2 separate regions of the Homo sapiens genome follow, and region 2 is linked to region 1. Evidence: promoter capture Hi-C in 16 types of primary human blood cells and fetal thymus (Javierre and others, 2016). All regions are on one chromosome and are shown on one strand. Each heading gives the region's core, a stretch centred on a gene start or on the middle of the fragment in contact. The rest is flanking DNA. Distances are from core to core; before and after follow the strand shown. Region 1 holds the start of LINC01116 (long intergenic non-protein coding RNA 1116). Region 2 has its middle 190 kb from the start of ATP5MC3.

Region 1 (6,439 bases), core at 1,667-4,166:
CAGCACAAAAGAAGTTGTCCTTCCATGCTTACATTTTCAAAATGCAAAAATCCAAAAAGCATCGATATTGGAAAATTCTTGGGAAACTGAAAAGCTTAACCATATTCCATAATTTTATTAATTTAAGACCTTCCAAGCAGGGAGGTCAAACTTAACTCTGCTTCCAGCTTACAAAGCACGTCAACTTATTTTGTATGTATAGCTATAAACTGTTTGCAAGTTTCCTCAGTCAGGTACTCGGGATGAATTATGAATGGAATTAGCCAGCCTGACTTGGAATTTCCTCACTTTTACTGGTCTTTAAACAAGATTTTTATACATTCATATGTAATCGATGGAACCAACACATGAAATGGCCCTTCACATAAAACACTCTCTTTTAAAGTGATTTTGCAGTTAAGGAAACCTAAATATGAACTTCTGATGTGGAAAAGGTAGTTTTTATATGCTATTTAGAAACTGATCTGAAAAACTGATGAGCTGACCACAAGATTTCTGTCAGAAACTGAAATTAGGATTATATTTTAAAATACAATTGTAAATGCTTGCTTTCTTTTATAAAACCAATCTGCTTCTCATATTCCTAGCCTTAGTCACACTGAAAATACATAAATTTGGTATTTGGTTATTGAGTTTTGAAGTTGCAAGGCAGGATAATTTAGATATTCATAAATACAGAGCATAAGAAAATCCTTCCTGAGTGCAAAACTATCTTTAAAATAATCATCCAAAGGAGTGAATGCCACACCTCCTGATTTAATTTTGGCTATTAGCTATTCATTCCTTAATATACATTCTTCCACATAAAACTTGCACTGTCTTAAAACTTGCCTACAAACTGGCATGTCCAAATTGTGTGCATAAAAAATAAGATGAAGATCGATGCCAAGTTTTCAAGAAAGAAATGAATTTGGATTGTTTATTACACCAACAAGACACATGTTCAAATTTATCCCCTGTATATAAAAAGATTAGTATAAAATATTTCTCAATTGTTTATGCAGAAAGTAGTAGGGAACAAATTCCAATAATTTTTATCACATAGCTGATATAGCTAAATATTTGGAACCTTTAAAAGAAAAGTGCTAATTAAAATACATATAAATTTTTCAAAGTTTAAAAAGCAGTTGGAAAAATACTTCTACCACTTAGAACACAATTACCTGCACAGCTTAATAGTCTTATGGATTTCAGTAGTAAAATATGTTTAGAAACATCTTGTCTTTTCCATTCCCTCAAACACACAGTGGGCTGAGAATATAACTCTTCATAATATATTAAAAAGTATCCACCATCTTGAGAAAACTATATATTATGGTAATAATTTTTACATCTGATTATGCCATTTTTAGACTATGGAATATAGTTTCTGAATTCTTTTGGGGGGAGGGAAATGGTGTGGAAAAACTACTTTTAAAACGTGCTTCTATCTTCATTTAAAATGTATAAATTCTCAAGTTTCTTAACAAAAAACTTTGATCCCACTATTTTATATAGACTGCATTTATAGGCTTGGAAATCCTGTTCTCTCTATTAAACTCCTTAGACAGGATTATATTAATCTTACTTAAAAGAAAAAACTACTTACAGCAAACATGGCACTCAAAAGAATTAAAAATAATACTTGCAATATTTTAATATTTATGAAAATCTGTTTTTTGAAAGACAGATGAACTTAGAAATGTGAACACACAAAAAAATACAAGTATAAAGTTTCCTTTCGAAACTTTTCCTTTCAAAGAAATATTTATCCCACATTTCTACATGCAAAACTTTTAGTGTAAACTATTGAGAAAATCCTAAATAGTAAAACATTTGTTTCTGTAAGTCCATAAGCACTTGCTGTACATACTCAGAGGCAGCCCTGGCCCACTGTATCCGCAAATGCATCTGCAGGGGGAATGGTTCCAAGCCAGTCACTGAGTGTCATCTGTCCCTTCTCCAGGGGCAGGGACATTGAGTCACAATGAAATTTTATTATTTATATACATTATTTTAAATTCTGTTTTTCTTAGAGCTCAAAGCTTTGACAGTAAATGTCAAACCACACTGAAGTTGACTTGTTAGCTTTTGTAGCTAGCCTTACTGCTGTCGGCTATTTCAAATTGCAAATGACAATAAACAGGTGGTTTTTTCTTTTAATCACTAAAGAACATCCCTTTTCATATAGCTAATATAACAAAAAAGTCTAAAACATGGGCATATAATTCCCACTGTAAATTAATTATAATTATTTCAGGCTTAAGTATTAATAGTAAGTGAATTCTTTTCAAGAGATCCTTGGCGGTTCCATTTGCCCTTGAACATTAACCCTGCCACCTCAAAACTCAATGCCTTTGCACTTAGTCTAGAAAATTAAAAATACAACTCGTCCTCATCCTAGTAACCTGCGCAAGTCTCTACAAGAGACTGGAGGATCTACGTGGTAACTAACTTTAACTTACCTCTTCTAGGCTTTATTAACGAGTTTATCAAAAAATATTAACTTTCAGGCAAGATGTGGCTAATTCTTAAATGCAGCTTAAAACTTTCGACATCCCCTTGTAAAAATGATGCCACGAAATGTGCCACTGTCCATTTATTTCCCATTTCACTTAACGCATTAATATTGACCCTTCGGACAGCAGCGCTGGCATCATTTTGGAGCTGCAAAGCAAGACGTGGCGCGTTGATGAGCTAAAAAGGACCCGTCTTTCTCTGGGCCCCTTACCAACATCTCTCTCCCTAGAAGACAAATACTTTTCAGATCTCGCACCCCTCTTTACAAACCTGAGCGGGGCTTTCGGGGTAAGGGGAGGCAAGACTTTGGTGGGAGCTGCTCGTCTTCAGCAAAGCGAGGGCCGGCTGCAAAGGCGCAGGCTGGCAGTTCGGGTCATTTCCTGCCGATTCCCCATTCCCCTCGGAGCAGCTTGGAGAGGAAGTCGGACTTCTTTTCCAGGCGGAGCCTCCACGATGGGCGTGGGCGCCTCGTGCGTGGGCCGGGGGCCTCGTGCGTGGGCGGGGATCGGGGCCTGGGAAAAACGGGAACCCGGTACCCGCCCGCGCCCTCGCGCGTCGGCCAGGAACCTCGGCCCCATGCGGGCGGGCCAGCGCGGCCAGGAGGGCCGGGAAGAGGGGTCCCCGGGGCCCCGGATGCGCTGAACTCCGGGGAGGGGATGGGCAGGAGAGAGAGCACACTCCTGGAGCCGCGACGTCCAAACCCGGACGCACTTGAACCCGCAGCGAGGCCCGTGGCTCGCGGCCTTCGGAGAGCACCCGCGCCCCGCGCAGACCGGACGCCGGCCTTGCCCGATCCTCGGCATCCTTCGGCGGGGCGGCCAGTCCCAGGGCGCTCGCTGAGGGCCACACCCTGGCCCCAGAGTTTAGCACCGCCGCGGGCAGGGCGCTCCGCTCCCGGACCCCGAATCTGAAAGCGGAGACCAAGGGCTGCCTGCGGCAAAGCTCGACATACACTTGATTTTCTTCCGATTTGGAGAAAATGTCACGGGCGAGAGCAAAAAAAAAAAAAAAAAAAAAAAAAAAAACCCTAACTGTAAATATTATTTGGAGGTGGGCGAGGGCGCGGCGTGCGCGCGGCGGCGGGTGGCGGGCGGCGCGGGCGCCCTTGCGGGGATTCCCGGTCTCTCAGCGCGCCCTAGTGGACGCCCTGCCTTTCGCTGGCTCCCCGTGCTCGTTACAATCTGCAATATATTATTTCTTCCGAAGTATTGACAATGTGTGAGACTCCAGTAACCCCGGAGCTCTCGTCTGTAATCAGCACATTTATCCACATTTAAGGGGGAAAATCCGAATTAAATCCCCGTGACCCTGATTGGGTTACAGTGTCATTTTCCCTGGATCCTCTTTTAAATCCACTCCACACTGCTTCTCTGTCTATTACATGCTAATTTAATTTTACTGTGGAAGATATTTTCAGGATTTGCTGAGGACAGTAAATTTTGTAGTTTATGTTATTTCACTTTTTATGACTTTTTAACACTTAATAAAATTTTATTAGAGCACTTTTGTGTTTACAAGGCCACAAAACTCTTGGCAGGTTGTCAGAAGTCCTTTTTATTATGATCCTACTGATATACTGCGAGTAATGAAATAATCATGTCCAGAAATGTATCAAAGGCCAGAGGGATTATCCCACTTAATAGCTCCACAGATGCGCCCAGAAGAATGTGGACGCGCGACAGGACGGGCTGAAAGGCTGCAGGAGGAAGCAGGCAGCCCCGGCTCCTGGCTTTACCATTTCGGTTGCTTTCCTAAAAGGCTACATGCAGGGTCATGTGACTTTCCGCGGTCTCAATAAAAAAAAAAAAAAAAAAAAAAAAAAAGAATTTATTCTATTGCAAAATGTGCTTTTCTTTTTATACTCCTTGTGTGGGCATTTAAGACTGTTCTAGTGGCAGTGGGGTTGGCTGTACATATCCATGTCAGTCACCGCGCCCGGCCCCACTTTCTTCTCATTTCTAAGTGTACTTTTGTGGCATTTAAACTGCCGATGGTGACTTTGGTGTTGAGCGGTGTTGTTTCCACAGCCCACACTGAAGGCATTGGGAGGGACCCAGGAGGGCACAAGGTGTTTTAAGGCCCTTTCCCACCTGCCAAACACCTTTTGCTGTTGCTTTTTGGTTTTATTTTGTTTTGCGAAACCGGGGAATAGTGACTTAAGGACTCGGCTTTCTGCCTTGTGCCAGAGAGCCACAGTACACTGCTTTTATTTTTATTTTTTGGTAAGACTTGGCTATAGGAAGGACTGAGAATATAGCTTTCATTTCTTTTAAAAAACATTTCCTTTTCTTTTAAATAGATACGTGATCATTTAACACACGGGTGTTAAGTTCATTCTTGCTGCAAAAGAAGGCCATTGTACCTCCTGACCCTGAAAGCAAGGTGGGTGGCTTTGTTTTATAATTAAATTTTCTGTCTTCAGCTTCATATTTCTCTTTCTCTGTTATTTCCTAAAGAGTGTGTCAAAGTGATAAAAGAGGTGAGGAATGGACTCATAAACAGAGTGATTTTGAAATTACTGTTGGTGTATCCATAGCACGTGTTCTTCTAAACTTTGGCTTTTAAGGATTTCAGCAGGGTTTTTCACAAGCAAGTGTGTGTGTGTGTTTCATGTTCCAACATATCACATTAGGATTTTGTAATCTGTCACTGTTTAAAACAGCCTCTGGGAAGCGCGCCTCTCTCTGGATTGCCTCCATCACACGTGTGTTCTCTCCCATTCAGAAATACATAAGGCTGCTCATGATGCTCTTTGATTTCAACTTCAAGGAAGCAGTTTAGTTTTTTGTATGTCGTTTGCTAACCATGGACAAAATTTAGCACCTGGTCTAATAGTCTTCTGTGTGTCTGTGATGGCCTAGATTCTGAAAAGAGCTTACGAAGGACTGCAGTCCTACCTTAAAAATAATTATGTCCTGAGATCATTTGGGCAGCCATTTATCTCCTTTTCTGGTATTTTCTATTTGCAAATATGAGTCAGTTTTTCTTTCTCTTTTTCAAATTATTTCTCTAACAGTTAAAGAACTAGGAAAGAAAGTGATGTTAGGCCCTGACTAAATATTCTTCCTTCATTCTGCTTACTACTGACGGCTTGTTTTCTTTGCCTTTTACCACATGAGACACAAGATATGAGACGGAGCAGAGAAAAAGGTTCTGATGTTAGCTCTCCAAATTCCAGAGTGTTTTGCATAAGGGAATTTATGCTCAAGTTCAGGAATCAAGAGGAACATATTAATTTTCATTCTGCTATGAAGTGACAGTTCAATTTTATGAGTAATTTGTGTCTGGGACAATTTAAATAATACTTAAAAGCCTGCAGTAGCTTTCAAGTTAAAAATCTATTGTGTTCAATTATGAAGTAAACCTCCCCAAGGCAGATCCATTTAATGCATCAAAGTATGTTTTTAACTCTTATTCAAAACTCCAAGAGATTGGCTTAAATATGGTAACTGATGGCACACAGCTGTGTTAATGGAGGGCTAACTAGTGTCCACACCGACTTCACAGTCCCTTCTCAAGTCTTCAGTGATGAAAGGAAAGAAAAGAGTGAAGCCTCAATCTTTTCATCTAGAGAATCGATCTTCAAAAACAGGAGTAAAGGAGCCACACCAGAAGCATGCAATGGTCTCCTCATAAGAAAACGTGCTGTTACAAAGCAGTAAGGTATTGGTGATACCAGGGCAGACCCTAGAACCACTTTGCTTGTTTCCAATCCAGTTCTGCTGTCTATTACTGTGTGGCCCTGGACAAGTTATATAACCTCTCTGTGATTAGTTTTTTCATCTGTAGAATGAGACTGATGCTAGTCCCCCCCTCCTAGTTTTGTTGAAAAGTTTAAAGAGTTAATTCATATGAAATGCTTAAAACAGACCCTGAGTGCTTCTTAAAACAAACTCCTGGAAGACTGACATATCCATCACCTAGCACAGTGCCTGGCACA
Region 2 (6,628 bases), core at 3,007-5,506, 1.3 Mb before region 1:
GTGTCTCTGTATTTTTATCAGTAAGAAGGAGATAAAAAACTACTTTTCATTTCAAAGGTTTTTGTGAGGATTAACTGTATTAATAAAATAAAAGGACAGAACAATTCTGGAATATAGTAAATGCTTAATAATGATTAACTCTTATTACTATGACTTGAACCTAATTGGTGCTCATTGAATATCTATTGATGGATTACCACAGCTACTTCTGCCAGCTTTTTATGTGTAAAAAAAAAATCTTTTTTTTTTTTTTTTTGGCATGGTTTAGTTAGATCCTTGCCTGAATTATATACTGCCTTGGTGTATAGTCTTTCTTTTTTAAACAGATGTGTAGTAGATATGCACAAAATACTTCTGGATGTTAAAAGGCAAAATTAAATAACAAAATATTTGACAACTCAGGGTGAAAATAGCCTCTGATTATTAATTGAAGGCACTGAAAGCATTTTGAGGGGCCGGTCTATACTTCTGATTGCCAAGCAAGCAGGGAGGTGACTGTCTCAAAGCTTCGGACGTTTTGAAGCTGGGGCCTGGCTCCGTAGTCTGTGACAATGCACAATGGTTGATGAGTTAGTTCTGGAGGCTTCTGAATTTTAATGATGCTGGAGATGATATTGTGTGTCCTTCAGCTTGTTAGAGTGACACCAGCACTCCATAAATCATAATACCTGTGTATTGTAAAATCAATAGCCAAGTGCTATCTCAGCGCTAACCCTTAATAAGTTTTTCACAGCTCTAACAGCTTAAACTTTGCCGTAATGCCATTGGACCTGTAGGTTAGGATCAGAGCATGCTTAATTTGTTTTGTAATAGAGACTTTTCACTAATGAAGGACCGATTAGTTAAGCTTTGGTTGCCACTCTGGTGATCAGTTGGCAGAACAGCCTCTGCAATTAAACTCATGTATCTCTGTCCTGAAGCAAAAAAGCAGGCTTAAACAGTCAATAAATGTTAATCCAGTCACAACCTGTCTCTGCCTTTGAAGGCTGCCCATGAGGGTTTTTTCCCCTACATCACATTTTTTTCATCTTGTTTTAAATGTGGTGGTCCCCATGGAGTCTGGATGTGGCGTGCATGACCTCCCATGGTCCTGTAATAAGATCTGGCATGCTAACAACATTGGCTACAGATCTGTCATCTATAGGTCTGTCTGTCCCTCCCCCTCCCTCATCTCCTTATCTAAGGTTGAAGAATAAATGAGCAATTGAAGCACATGGGACCTCTAGATGAAATTGGGTAAATATGTATGCAAAGTGGAGGGTGTGCTTTTGTGTTGCTAGGACATATATTATGGTCTCTCCTTCCCACTTTCACTACACACATATGTGGTCAGTATGGTAAAGGAAAGCTGTTTCCTTATTTGCTTTTATTGAGGGAATGTGGCTTGTAATCATCCCTGATGAGTGCTGGGAAGTGAGAGCTCAGTGCAGAGCTGGCAAGCAAAGTAGAACTTCAGAATCACTCCTGGTGGGGCTGGGGGTAGGGTGGTGGAGAAAAAAAAGGAAGAAGAAAAAACTGAGATATAAAACACTTCAAAACTATTTAATACTCCCCTTCCTTGTTATCTGTGTCCTTAAAATTTCAGATACTTTTCTTTTTTCTTTATTTTCTTGCTCTTTCACTTAAGGAAGAGAAGTAAAGACTGACAGCCAGACAGGAAAGTGGCTAGTTCAGACTGTGGCCCACAGACCTGTGGGTGAATGGAAGAGAGTGGTCTGAAAATTGAAATGTCTTCTGTTGGATCCAGGGTCACATGCTTCGGGAGTCTGGTGACATTTGTTTTTTTCCTTCCCATAGGAGCTTGCTTTCCATAGGGCATGCATGAGAGTTAGCTTGTGTCCCTGATGAGAAGATTTAAGCTGTGGGGAAAGGGGGTGCAAAGGAAAGTGAGTGGGTGCAAAGACTGGGAGTGAGTTGTCCAGGAGTCACTGGTCTGCAATGGCAGTGCTGAAAAATGAAGAAAATGCTCATCAAAAGAAGAAGGTTTAGAATTTAACTTGTGGTGAATCTGGGTTTTGTGAACTGTTGTTTAGTTGGCACTTAATTTAGCATACTAGTATTTTATTATAACATTTCATCATTTAATGTCAGGTAGCAAATTATTACTCAACAGAGTATTATTGACTTAATGCAATTAGGCTTTTGAAGCGTTCTGAAGCTGGAGAGCTCTTTTACATGGGTCTTCTTCCTGGAATGCAAATCTGATAGCTATGGAGCAGGCAGGAATTAACCATGTCCCTATGAACTCATTTATGTTAGAAGAACCCCCAGTAATTTCTCTGCAACTCATTGGTTTTTCAGAGAAAAAAGTTTTCAAAGCAATGCTATGGAATATACTTGCAAGTATATTAAACCTGCCTTAGTAAAGGCAGATGTTTTCAATGATCCAATTGCTTATTTAACAAATTGATATTGAGTGCCTACTGTGTGCTCCTCACCAGGGCAGGTGCAGAGGAAACAATGAAAAATGTGACATGCTTGGTCTCTGCCCTTGGTCCTGTGCTCACTCTTGAGAAATTTAATATATGCAAAGAAATACATTTAAAGTAAAAAAAACCACACACACAAATATATTGATCATGAGCACTGAAGGCAAAAAATAATTAGCATTACTCAAGTAATTTATGATCCTAATGGGCACTGAGCCATGTGCTGCAGGCCTTAAGTCATTCAGTAACAGAGTCTTTCTGAGCTCTGGTTCTATAAAAAGCACCATGTCACATACTGTTGGCAATTGTCAAGAAAATTAAAGACATTAAGCCCTTGAACCTTATACTTGTATTTTTTTTCCTCAAGAATGCAAGATGGAATATATATCTCAGAAAAACTGTAATCAGTTTGAGACATATGATATGTATACTTAGGCTTCATTTCCTCATTTTGCATTATAGATGTTTTGCTGAGCTGTTGACTGTAAGTGGAATCATTTGAAATGCGTGATTTCAAGGAACCCTGCCGTGATTTCTTTTACTAAGCAGAGGAGAACCTTTTTAACATGGATAAATTACTGTAAATGTTCTTTCCTCTAAATCTGATTTGGTAAATTGGGTGTTTCCTGAGCAGGCCTAAATGGACAAATGTGTGCATATGCATGTATAACGTACCTTAGTCAATCTGTGTAATCAGAGGCAGGAATTGTGGGTTGACCTTGCCAGGGAATTTTTAAGCAGAACTGACTGCAGCCAGTGGTCAGCGAGGGCCACTTCTTCCTAGACTTTGCATAACTCCAAACAGCCACAAGCCAAGGACAGTCATTCTGAGTAAGCAGGAATGGAGAGAAGGAAATCAATATTATCATCAGTGTTGTTTAACATTTCTTTGTTAAGCTTCACAGCCTAACAAATATTTTACAACTCGTTTGTTCCCTAGTCTGGTTAACCAAGAAAAAAATCCGGAAGGAAACGAGCTCTGTTCTCAAGCTTCTGGGAGGGAACTTACTGTTCTCTTTAACCAGTTAAAGGCCATTAAAAGCGTGTGGTTTTCCTTTAAGGCTCTTACTTAAATAGACAAAATTCAGGACATTTTTACTGGAGGTACCCCTTACTTCTTTCATTTATGTGTAGATGGCACAAATATCATCCCTGTGGCAAGGGCTGTAGCTGGATAGAAGAATGGCATATTTTGAAATGGAAAGACAGGTTGATAGCTAGGGAGATGTCTCTCCAGCCTCTTGGCCCTTACCTGCAGCTCCTTCCCACATGGGGGCAGAGATCAATGGGGCCAAGAGCAAGTCATCTGGCAGAGTAGGGACTCCCCAGGACACTCCCAGCCATTCTTCCCAGTGTATATCATATGAATGGACAAAAGGAGGTCGCAGGTGACATTGGCCTCCAAAAGTGCAAATGCAGCTTGTTCTGTAGAGAGGTATAGCTCAGTGGTAAGTTGCAAAAAAAAAAAAAAAAAAAAAAAAAAAGCATAAAATAACTCTTTCTTAAGTCAGACGCCTTGAAGTCAAACATACTGGAAGTCAGTGTACCTTAGTAAAGAGAGACCCAGTTTCAGCTTGTCTGTAAAAGGGCTCTCATGGACATTTATTTATTTATTTACTTATTTATTTTCGAGATGGAGTCTCGCTCTGTCACCCACGTTGGAGTGTAGTGGTGTGATTTCGGCTTACTGCAATCTCCGCCTTCTGGGTTCAAGCGATTCTCCTGCCTCAGACTTCAGTAGCTGGGATTACAGGCGCGTGCCACCACCCTGGCTAATTTTTGTATTTTTAGTAGAGACAGGGTTTTACCATGTTGGCCAGGCTGACAGGGACTTTTAGAGGGCCCTTTTCTGGAGTATTCAAAGTTGCATTTAATTCTCTGTTGAGTGAACCTGAGAATCTTGACAGTTTCCTTAGAAGGGGCACTTTGCATTTCTCTGGAAGAGCCTTTCTGGTTCTTCATCTTATTGGGGTTGCCATGAAAGTAGGGCATACTGGAAATCTAATGCTCAGAAATTTAGCTCCACTCTCACCATTTTCTTTAAGAATAGAAAGTTCTGCCAACTAGAAGCAAGGGTAATATAAAAGTTATTGTGGGTAGAAACTGAGGAAATGTACCAGGCAATAGTCTTATAATAAATGAACTTAAGGAAGAGAAAGTCGACTCTACAGTAAATGATAACAGAAAGAGCACAGTCTTTAGAATCTGACACACTGACTTTGAATATCTGCTTTGTCAATTAACTTTGTGACCACAGGTAAAGTTATTTAACTTCCCAGGACCTTATTTTCATGAGATTGCTCTGAATTTTTATTGAGAATACACATATTAAGCACTTAAAACACTGGCAGGCATAAGACTAATTGCTCAAGATATATTGGTTTTCCCTTCCTTTACCTTCTTTTTGGTTTTTGGCTAAATTTGAATACTCCTTCTGTTTTAATATTTTAAGATAAAATGTCTGCAAAGAAGACACAATTATAATTAGCAAGGATAAAATAAACTAAAGCTAAGGAGATAATGTTTAATTTTATTTGTACATAAGGGTATATAATAGTAAGTATATGGAAATTGTACTTTCCCCATTTCCTCTTGCCAAGATGTATAAAATGGAGTTGTCATTTATAAGCAGTAATGGACAATGTAAAACACTAGTGTCATCCTAAAGCTTTGCTTTCAGTAAGCCTTACTAGTATTTAGAATTTTACTCTACAATGTGATGGTGGTTAACGTGCTAATCATGAGAAACCATTAAAATCCCTATGATTCAACGCATCGCACACTCTATTTCCAAACCGATTTGAGCTGGGTTAAATCTGAAACAAAATGTTAAATGTGAAACAAAACTAGTGTGTGGCAAGCAATAGTTTCTTCTAAGCCCCAATAACTCAAATATTTTTCATTAAAATACACACCAACCAAAAGAGACCTAGACCTGATGCCTGGAAAATGCATTTATTTTTTCCTTTTTTATTTTTAAACAAAGCAAGGAGTTGAAAACGTCAGAAATAATGAAACCAGCATATTTTTATTACTCTGTTCTTACAAGAACTTATTTTTAATGAAATTTAGTTTAAAACAAAAAATCTTGTTCCTAGGTTGAATTTTTTTGCGTGGCACATTCCAGCCTGGGGCTATCTTTTATTGGCTAAGTTATAAATCCCAGAAAAGGGGGTTTTATAGTGGAAATGCTGACAGAACCCGCATAGTGCTACTGGGTGCCTCTCTAATTAGTCTGAAATCCTGAAAGCTGAATTCCATAATATGTGGCCTGTACTGTAGCAAGACTACAGTGTGGCCAAACCCCCAAGCTTAACTGGGCATTTCATGTGCAATCAGGGTTTCATATAGACTATGGTGGAGCCTTTTACAGTTGTAAAATGCTAGTACTTTTAAGGGAGAGAAAGCTTTATTGGTCCTCTTACTTATTTGAATGTGAAAGAGAGTTGTTTGGATATTTTTTTGATAATCTAGGAATCCCTGGCATGAGTGCCCCACTTTGCAGACAATGAGTTTCCACCTGGGCCTGGACACTCGGATTTCTAGAGATTCATTTTAGCATCCATTTAAACGGCTTCCATAAAACCAACTTTCATTTGTGCTCAAGTGCTTGATACTAATGTTGACAGAGAAACATCCCACCAGGGAACTGAAGTGAGTGAAAGACAGGACATGTAGCTTTACACACACACACACACACACACACACACACACACACACACACACACACACACACACACACAGCTTTCCTGTTTGGTTTGCCCTCTTTGTCCTGCCTCTAGCCTGACTTGCCTGGTCTAGGCCCTCACTTGCCTGGAATGATTATAGGCTCTCACACTTGCCGGGTGCAGACCTGATAGGGCCAATGTCTCTTGCAGCTGCAGAGCCCAGTCAAAAGATCACTGAGCTTCAGTGCTGGCCTAGAAATAAGCTGGGAAAGCTCTCTCCTCAGGACCTTATAAGAAAGAAGAAAAGAAAAGAAGAGAAGAGAAGGGGAAGGGGAAGGGGGGAAGGAAGGAAGGAAGGATGGAAGGAAGGAAGGAAACGAAAAGAAAAGAAAAGACAAAAATACCAGATTCAGTTTACAAACGGACCCCATGTCAGACAGGCCCACAGCTTATGAAATTGCCCTTCCCTTGCTCCACTCTGATCTTGATTTCCCTCTTATTTCCCCTTCATCTTTTTGTTGCTTGGTTTGC

The links. The method cuts DNA at HindIII sites, captures the fragments that hold promoters and counts their contacts. A CHiCAGO score of 5 or more calls a contact.
Region 2: a fragment that was not itself captured here is called in contact with the fragment with the promoter of LINC01116 in region 1 in 1 of 17 cell types (M2 macrophages); the score reaches 7.3 in M2 macrophages.

The regions. Positions count from the first base shown.
Region 1 is chr2:176,634,693-176,641,131 of GRCh38, forward strand. It overlaps LINC01116 (long intergenic non-protein coding RNA 1116), which reads right to left and starts at 2,917. Exons shown (of 5, transcript NR_188023.1): 1 at 2,770-2,917. It overlaps LINC01117 (long intergenic non-protein coding RNA 1117), which reads left to right and starts at 3,062. Exons shown (of 4, transcript NR_110599.1): 1 at 3,062-3,316; 2 at 4,799-4,881. RefSeq lists a silencer at 3,527-3,576 and an enhancer at 3,737-4,251. The HindIII fragment of the contact is 4,643 bases long and covers 2,023-6,439 here.
Region 2 is chr2:175,370,229-175,376,856 of GRCh38, forward strand. No RefSeq gene overlaps it. Among named protein-coding and RNA genes, the nearest start is that of ATP5MC3, 190 kb to the left of the region's middle. The HindIII fragment of the contact is 1,678 bases long and covers 3,418-5,095 here.